Linked DNA regions of Homo sapiens: all the other regions are linked to region 1. The links are contacts of gene promoters, found by promoter capture Hi-C in blood cells and fetal thymus (Javierre and others, 2016). All regions are on one chromosome and are shown on one strand. The core of a region is centred on a gene start or on the middle of the fragment in contact, and the rest is flanking DNA. Distances in the headings are between cores, read along the strand shown. Region 1 holds the start of CFAP54 (cilia and flagella associated protein 54). Region 2 overlaps CCDC38 (coiled-coil domain containing 38). Region 3 overlaps SNRPF-DT (SNRPF divergent transcript).

Region 1 (2,700 bases), core at 24-2,523:
CATACTTTAATAAATTTAACTCTGACTTTTGCCTATAATACACAGGCTAAGAATAAACTCCCCAAGTATTTCCCTGGAGGTCTGTAGTTTCCCCATCAGAAGTAAAGTCTCCTAAAAGCCCTGTTTAAAATGCAAAGTATTTTGAGAGTTAACACTTCAGGCCACTAGTATGTATTAATGTCCTATGGTTAAGGTTGAGCAAAATGCACATTAATTTAGAATACAGAGATAATTAAAGTAAGGCTGGAATGTGCATAAATAGATGTAATCATAATTATTAGAGGCATAGACATCATGTCCACAGTTACAGACCTCAAGGTACAAATAGAGGAAAGAGAATGGATCAGCTGCATATTCAGTACTCCCTGGCTATCTGTGGGGGACTAGTTCCATGACACCCGCAGATACCAAAATCTGTGGATGCTCAAGCCTCTGATATGAAATGCTGTAGTATTTGCATATAATTTGTGCACATCCTTCAGGATGTTTTAAATCATCTCTAGATAACTAGTAATACCTAATACAGTATAAATGCCATGTAAATAGTTGTATTTTGTGTTATTTTTATTGTTGTATTGTTATTTCTAATTTTGTTCTGAATATTTACAATCTGGAGTTGCTTGAATCCACAGATGAAGAACCCGAGATTTGGAGGGCCAACTGTATTTGATTCTTAAACTGCTTGTCAGATATTTCTCTAATTTCAATTTGATTAATAAGCTTTGTTTTGGGGAGTGATCAATACAGCCTATTCATTTTGAGCACAGGCTTTGGAGTCACAAGTTCCCTTTGGAGGACCTGGTCGCTGACACTACGGTTGTACGCTGACTTTTGTCAAATGACTTAACCTCCTTGAGCTTTGGTTTCCTAAACTGTGAGATGGATATACTAATAGTATCCTAAGTTGTAAAGTAGTTATGATGATTAAATGAGATAAATGAAAGTACATGTTTCAAATGCTTAATGCCTGACACACGTTAATGGTCATGGTCGTCATCATTATCGTTATTAAGTGGCCAACATGGATAAAGAGTATAGTCTGGATTTGTGACCTTAAATTTTTGGCTCTAATATTCGCCAGCGCTCTGCTCAGAACATTCTCTGTTCGCATTTCATACAGCGGTGCCAGCGCACAACCAGGCAACGCCCTCAGGAGCATCATTGTTTTCTGGACCTGGTTCTTTCTCGCTCTGCCCTCCAGGGGCCGCTGTGTTTCTCGGAATGCGCGCGGGATGCCCGGTTGCCACGAGACCGTCGCCAGGCAACCGCGTGTACACATACTCCAGGCGGGCCGGGGCGCGTCAATATGGCGGCGCAGGGCTCCCCCTCGAGCTCTCCGTCAGACGACTCTACCACCTCGGGGTCTCTGCCAGAACTGCCGCCGACCTCCACCGCGACTTCGAGGTCGCCCCCAGAGTCGAAGGGGAGCTCCCGGAGCTCGCTGCTTCAGTGGACCTGCCCCGAGGACTCATTGCCCCTAGCCGTGTTTTATGGGCCGCTGGACGCGAAAAACCCGCTCCTGGCCTCTTGTGAGAAGGAGATCCAGGAGTTGTTAGGCTTTATGAGGAAAAAGAAGGCTTTAGCCACCACGGAGGAAGAGAAGCACGAATTCCGCCGGCGTTGGTAAGCGCTGGCGGGGCACTGGGGAGGGCGCCGGCCAGAGGAGGGACCCCTGGAAAGGGCTGGAGGATGCAGGTGGTGGCCCCAGAGATGGTTCAGCGTTGCGGACGCAGGGGCTGGCTGAAGGGCCCAGGAGAGACAAAGTTTAAGAAGTGGAGACTCGTCGCTCTTAACAATCCTTAATTCCTGGGAGCTGTTATATCTTGGCTTCCTGCTCAGGTCAAAATAAAAATCTACACAGAAATGTTTCATAACTCACCATTTGTTATTTGACCAGAAAAGAAAGATGGTAACATAAGCAGGAAAGAACCTTAAAAAGAGTTCGCAGTTTGCAGTAATAACATGGTGATAGAACTCCCAAAAAGGCAAACAGTTGCGCAGAATGAATAGCAAAATTAAGAAAAAGTCACTGTAATCCTAATAGCAATATAAGAAGGAATTAAAGTGCACATGTTCACAGGATGACATACTTCATTGTATCAAGAGCTAGCTTCATGAACCTGAGCTACCTCGAAGTTATTCCTTTTTCTCCATATACAAATTTATATACTCATAACATGGAAAGTTGTGAAACCCTTGAGCGAGCCAAAAATTTATACATGAATACAAAATACGAAAATTAGCTGGGCATGGTGGCACATGCCTGTACTCCCAGCTACTCAGGAGGCTGAGGCAGGAGAATTGCTTGAACCCGGGAGGCAGAGGTTGCAGTGAGCTGGGATCGCGCCACTACACTCCAGCCTGGGCGACAGAGCAAGACTCCTTCTCAAAAAATAATAATAATAAATAAATAAAATAAAATATTTTTTATTTATGCATATAACAACTATTTATTGAGCACATACTGTATATCAAGTGCTGTTCAAGGAACTAGGAAAACATCAAGTTAACAAAACATATAAGAATCCATGTCCTTATAGAGCATATGTTTTTGTGGGTATAAACAACCACTAAACAAATATGTAAGTAAATAATCTTACAAGGAGATGACTGCTAGGGAGAAAAATAGAACAGGGAATGGTGTTGGAGGATATGAGATGAATGTTGCAATTTTATCTTTTTTTTTTGAGACAGGGTCTC
Region 2 (2,700 bases), core at 173-2,672, 580 kb before region 1:
AATATACACAAATCAATAAATGTGATTCACCACATAAACAGAATTAAACCCCAAAACCATAGGATCATCTTGATAGACCCAGAAAAAGCATTCAATAAAATCCAACATCCCCTTATGATAAATACACTCAACAAACTAGGCATCGAAGGAACATACCTCAAAATACTAACAGCCATCTATGACAAACTCACAGCCAACATCATACGGAACAGGTAAAAGTTAGAAGCATTTCCCCTAAGAACTGGAACAAGACAAGGATTTGCACTCTCAGCATTCCTAGTCAACATAATACTGGAAGTCTTAACCAGGGCAATCCAGCAAGAGAAAGAAACAAAAGCATCCAAATAGGAAAAGAGGAAGTCAAATTATCTGTCTTCACTGATGATATGGTTCGATACCTAAAAAACCCCAAAGACTCCACCAAAAGAGGCTTAGATCTGACAAACAACTTCAGCAAAGTTTCAGGATACAAAATCAATGTACAAAAATCAACAGCATTTGTATACATCAATAACATTTGAGCTGAGAGCCAAATCAAGAATGCAATCCCATTTACATTACACACACACACACACACACACACACACACAAAATACCTATGGATATTTGTAAACAAAGAGGTGTAAGAACTCTACAATGAGAATTACAAAACACTGCTGAAAGAATTCATAGATGACACAAACAAATTGAAAAACATTCCAGGCTCATGGATTGGAACAATCAATGTCATTAAAAATGTCCACACTTATGAAAGCAATTTACAGATTCAATGCTATTCCTATCAAACTACCAATGTCACTTTTCACAGAATTAGAAAAAAACTATTCTAGAATTCAGGCTGGGCATGGTGGCTCATGCCTGTAATCCCAAAACTTGGAAAGGCCAAGGTGGGAGGATTGCTTGAGGCCAGGAGTTCAAGACCAGACTGAGCAACACAGCAAGAAACCCATCTTTACAAAAAAATTAAAAAATTAGTTGAGCATGGTTGTGCGTGCCTATAGTCCTAGCCTCTCACAGGACTAAGCCAGGAGGATTGCTTGAGTTTAGAAGTTCAAGGTTACAGTGAGCTATGATCATGCTACTGCACTTCAGCCTGGGGGACAGAGTAAGACACTGTCTCTAAATGAATAAATAATTCATAAAAATAAAATAAAAATTACATGAAGCCAAAATAGAGCCCAAATAGCCAAAGCAATCCTACGCAAAAAGAACGAAGTTGGACTCATCATATTACCTGATTTCAAACTATACTACAAGGCTACCGTAACAAAAACAGCATGGTACTGGTACAAAAATAGACAGACCAATGGAACAAAATAGAAAACAGAGAAATAAAGCTGCACACATACAACCAACTGATTGTCAACAAAGATGACAAAAATAAAAAATGGGGAGAGGATCCCCTTTTCAATAAATGGTGCAGGGAAAACTGGCTAGCCATATGCAGAAGAATGAAACTAGATCCCTTCATCTTACCATATACAAAAATTAACTCAAGAGGGATTCAAGATTTAAATGTAAGACCTCCATCTATAAAAAGAAATCCCAAAAGAAAATCTGGGACATACTCTTCCAGACATTGGCCTAGGAAAAGTTCTCAAAACCAAATGCAACAAAAATAAAAATTGGCAATTCACACCTAATTTAACTAAAGAGCTTCTGCGCAGCAAAAAACACTATCAACAGACTAAACAGACAACCTATAGCATAGGAGAAAATATTTGCAAGCTATGTATATTCGCAACCTTTGTCAAAGACAAAGGCCTAATATCCAGAATCTACAAGAAACTTAAACAAATTAACAAGAAAAAAACACATTGAAAAGTAGGCAAAAGAAGGCATACAAGTGACATCCGATAAACTGGAAAGAATGCCCGACATTGCCAATCATCAGAGAAATGCAAATCAAAATCACAATGAGATGCCGTCTCACACCAGTCAGAATGGCTATTATTAAAAAGTCAAAAAATAACAGATGACTAGGTTGCAGAGAAAAATGGAATGCTTATACATTGTTGATGGGAATACACTGTTAATTCAGCCCCATGTGGAAAGCAGTTTGGAGGTTTTTCAAAGAACTAAAAATAGAACTATCATCCAACCCAGCAATCCCATTACTGGGTACCTACCTCCCCAAAAATAAATTGTTCTGTCAAAAAGACACATGCACTTGTATGTTCATCACAGCAATGTTAACCACAGCAAATACAGAGACTCAACCTAGATGCCCATCAACAGTGGACTGGCTAAAGAAAATGTGGTGCATGTATACCATGGAATACTATGCAGCCATAAAAAGAATAAAATAATGTCCTTTGCAGCAACATGGATAGAGCTGGAAGTCATTCTCCTAAGTGAATTAACACAGAAACAGAAAAGCAAATACTGCATGTTCTCACTTATAAGTGGGAGCTAAACATTGAGTACACATGGACAGAAAGATGGGAATAATAGACACTGAGGCCTCCTAAAGCAGGGAGGGAGGGAGAGGAGCAAGGGTTGAAAAACTTCCTATTGGGTACCATGTTCACTATTTTGGTGATGCAATCAATAGAAGCCCAAAGCTCAGCATCATTCAACATACCCTCATAACAAACCTGCACATGTATCCCCTGAATCTAAAATTTAAGAATTTAAATACTCATCCCTACGTGGAAGCTAAAAAAGTTGACCTCATAGAAGTAGAGAGTAGAATAGTGG
Region 3 (2,700 bases), core at 185-2,684, 640 kb before region 1:
AAATGGATAGCTTGTTATCCCCTTCTTTCTCTTTTTATACAGAGGCAGCATATTTTGCAAATTATTCGGTGCCTTGTCTTTCTCAGCAATTTATCATGGAGATCTTTCTGTGGCCTTGACACTCTTGAACATTGCAGGCCACTTTGTTCCTCAATGTGGTTTGTCTGATATTTCCTGATTACTAGATTCAGGTTATGTGGCTTTGGTAAGAATATCACAGAATGCATCTTTTCTTTGCATCTTATCATGTGGCACCTGATTTTGATTTTCCAGTTGCTAACGATAGTTGTTTGATCACTGGATTGTAATAAGATGGTGTCTACCAGTTACTATAGTGAAGAAGACTGAAAATAGCCAATGTTCGAAGGGATCCTGATTCCTTTAGTGGGAAGCAGTTTCTAGAAACTAAAACCTGAGCATTAAGTATGCTCATTATTATAGGTTGATTCCTTTGATTAGTGCCCTTGTAACAAATTTCCCTTCCTGCCATTGTCCCCTCCCCTGCATTTCTTCTTCATTCCATTCAGGTTCTGACACCGTGTGCCAGGTCATTCTGCATGGACATCCTCCTTGCTTCCTTTAGGCTCTGACACTCCACAGCAGGCCACCCTCTTCCCCGCAGTGTGGACACCCTCTTAACCCCACTCAGGCTCCAACACTCCCTGTCAGGCCACCCTCTGGGGATGCTTCATCCTACTTGGGCTCCAATGGCTGGTGCTGGGCTGCCCCTCGCCATGCGTGATCACCATCCTCACCTCCTCAGGCACCAACTTCCCATGTTTGCCTGCCCTCCTATGTAGATACCTTCCTCCTCCTGCTCAGGCTCTGACACCCCACACTGGCTGCTCTCTTATGTGGATGTTCTCCTCACTCCATTCAGACCACTGTGACTACCCCCATACCCCAGCACAGGTGCATACTTTGCTTACTCCATCTAATGGTTTTAAAACCACATCTTCAGGAAGGATAGAGGAACAACCTTGTACTAACTCCTAACATCCACTACCACACTGGGAGAAAGAAACAATTATCCCTATGTCATGGGAAAATAAGCTTAGTGAGGGCGGGTAACTTACACAAGTTCCCACTAGTAAGTGTTGGGGGCAGGATTCAAACTCAGATTCGAACCTGGCCTCTAGAACCAGCATTATCAACCATTATGTTGTCAATCATATAAAACAATCATATAATGTGCTATTAAATATACTGTTTTTATTATCTTCTGCTGCCGTATATACTGCCTTCTTTTTTTGAGACAGAGTCCCATTCTGTCGCCCAGGCTGGAGTGCAGTGGTGCCATCTCGGCTGACTGCAGCCTCTGCCTCCTGCGTTCAAGTGATCCTTGTGTCTCAGCCTCCTGAGTAGCTGGGCTTACAGGCATGCACTACCATGCTTGGTTAATTTTTGTACTTTTAGTAGAGACGAGGTTTAGTAGAGATGGGGTTTCACCATGTTGGCCAGGCTGGTCTTGAAATCCTGGCCTCAAGTGATCCACCCACCTCGGCCTCCCAAAGTGCTGGGATTACAGGCATGCACCACACTGCCTGGCCTATACTGCTTTTTTAATATAACTCAATATATATGAACAAATTGTATGCATCCACTCATTTTCTGTCTCATCTGTTTCCCAGGTCCTTGATTGCTAGCTCCCTCCAGCTCCCTCTGCACTTAATGGCTAATAAATGTGGTTTTGGGTCTAGACTAATCTCTTATATCTTGAGTTATTAGGCAAACTAATTTTCTGGTCCATAAAGGGATTGGTCTCCCCATAAATATATAAGGTGCTACTTTTACATTGGTTTTACATTACTTAAACCAAGCTTTTGGGGATAATTAGATTTTGATTGAATATAAATGTAGGAGAACAAATATTTATCGAACTGACCAGATATTGTACTGCGTTGCATATATTATCTCATTTAATGTTCTTCATTTAATGTTAACCCTGTGAGAGTCAGGAGAGAACCCCAACTTCAGGTAGCAAGGAGTAAACCTGCTGTCTCTCCACAGGTGCTGAAAGGAGACAATGAGACTATGTGGATCAGAACAAGACAGTTTACTACACACAGCAAACAGAAGCATTGTCTTAGCCATGTCAGCCTCCCTTGCCCCCCAGGTCCCAAGAGGTGAAGTGATAGACCCAGACAGATAGATGTGCACAGTGGATTCCAGCACAGCTGAAGAATCAAAGCCAACAGCCCAGAACTTTTTGAGCAAGCAGCAGTTTAGCAAACAGCAAACAAGTAGTCCAATATTAGTTATTAGCATTAGTTATTGTAGGTCACATTGACCTACTCACGTGCCTACGTACCTCGCTACAGAAACTATTCAGTATCAGGAGGTGGATAAACACCACAAATATTGTATCCTAATAGCAGCCTTATAAGATGGGTATTGAACTGGGCATGGTGGTATACACCCATAATCCCAGCCACTTGGGAGACTGAGACAGGAGGATTGCTTGAGCCCAGGAGTTTGAGACCAGCCTGGGCAACATAGTTACAGCCCACCTCACTAAAAAAAAATTTTTTTAAGATAGGTACTATCATGATCATCCTCTTTATTGATGAGGAGATTGAAGCAGAGATAAGCTGCACATGGCAGAGTCAGGATTTGAACTCAGACAGTATTGGCTCCTACCCACAATACCAGGTTTCCTTTGTTGGGGCTCAGAAAATGATACCCCGAAGCATACTGCTA

The links. Contacts are between HindIII fragments. The CHiCAGO score rates a contact against its expected background, and 5 or more counts as called.
Region 2: a fragment that was not itself captured here is called in contact with the fragment with the promoter of CFAP54 in region 1 in 1 of 17 cell types (neutrophils); the score reaches 6.0 in neutrophils.
Region 3: a contact is called between a fragment that was not itself captured here and the fragment with the promoter of CFAP54 in region 1, in 4 of 17 cell types (monocytes, fetal thymus, neutrophils and 1 more). The highest score is 8.1, in monocytes.

Annotation. Positions count from the first base shown.
Region 1 is chr12:96,488,304-96,491,003 of GRCh38, forward strand. It overlaps CFAP54 (cilia and flagella associated protein 54), which reads left to right and starts at 1,274. Exons shown (of 68, transcript NM_001306084.2): 1 at 1,274-1,623. The coding sequence starts at 1,307. RefSeq lists a silencer at 1,128-1,422 and an enhancer at 1,313-1,522. The HindIII fragment of the contact is 3,410 bases long and covers 719-2,700 here.
Region 2 is chr12:95,909,744-95,912,443 of GRCh38, forward strand. The region is part of intron 4 of CCDC38 (coiled-coil domain containing 38); the gene reads right to left. Among named protein-coding and RNA genes, the nearest start is that of CCDC38, 32 kb to the right of the region's middle. The HindIII fragment of the contact is 4,522 bases long and covers 1-2,700 here.
Region 3 is chr12:95,851,638-95,854,337 of GRCh38, forward strand. All of the region lies in intron 1 of SNRPF-DT (SNRPF divergent transcript), which reads right to left. Among named protein-coding and RNA genes, the nearest start is that of SNRPF-DT, 5.9 kb to the right of the region's middle. The HindIII fragment of the contact is 767 bases long and covers 1,052-1,818 here.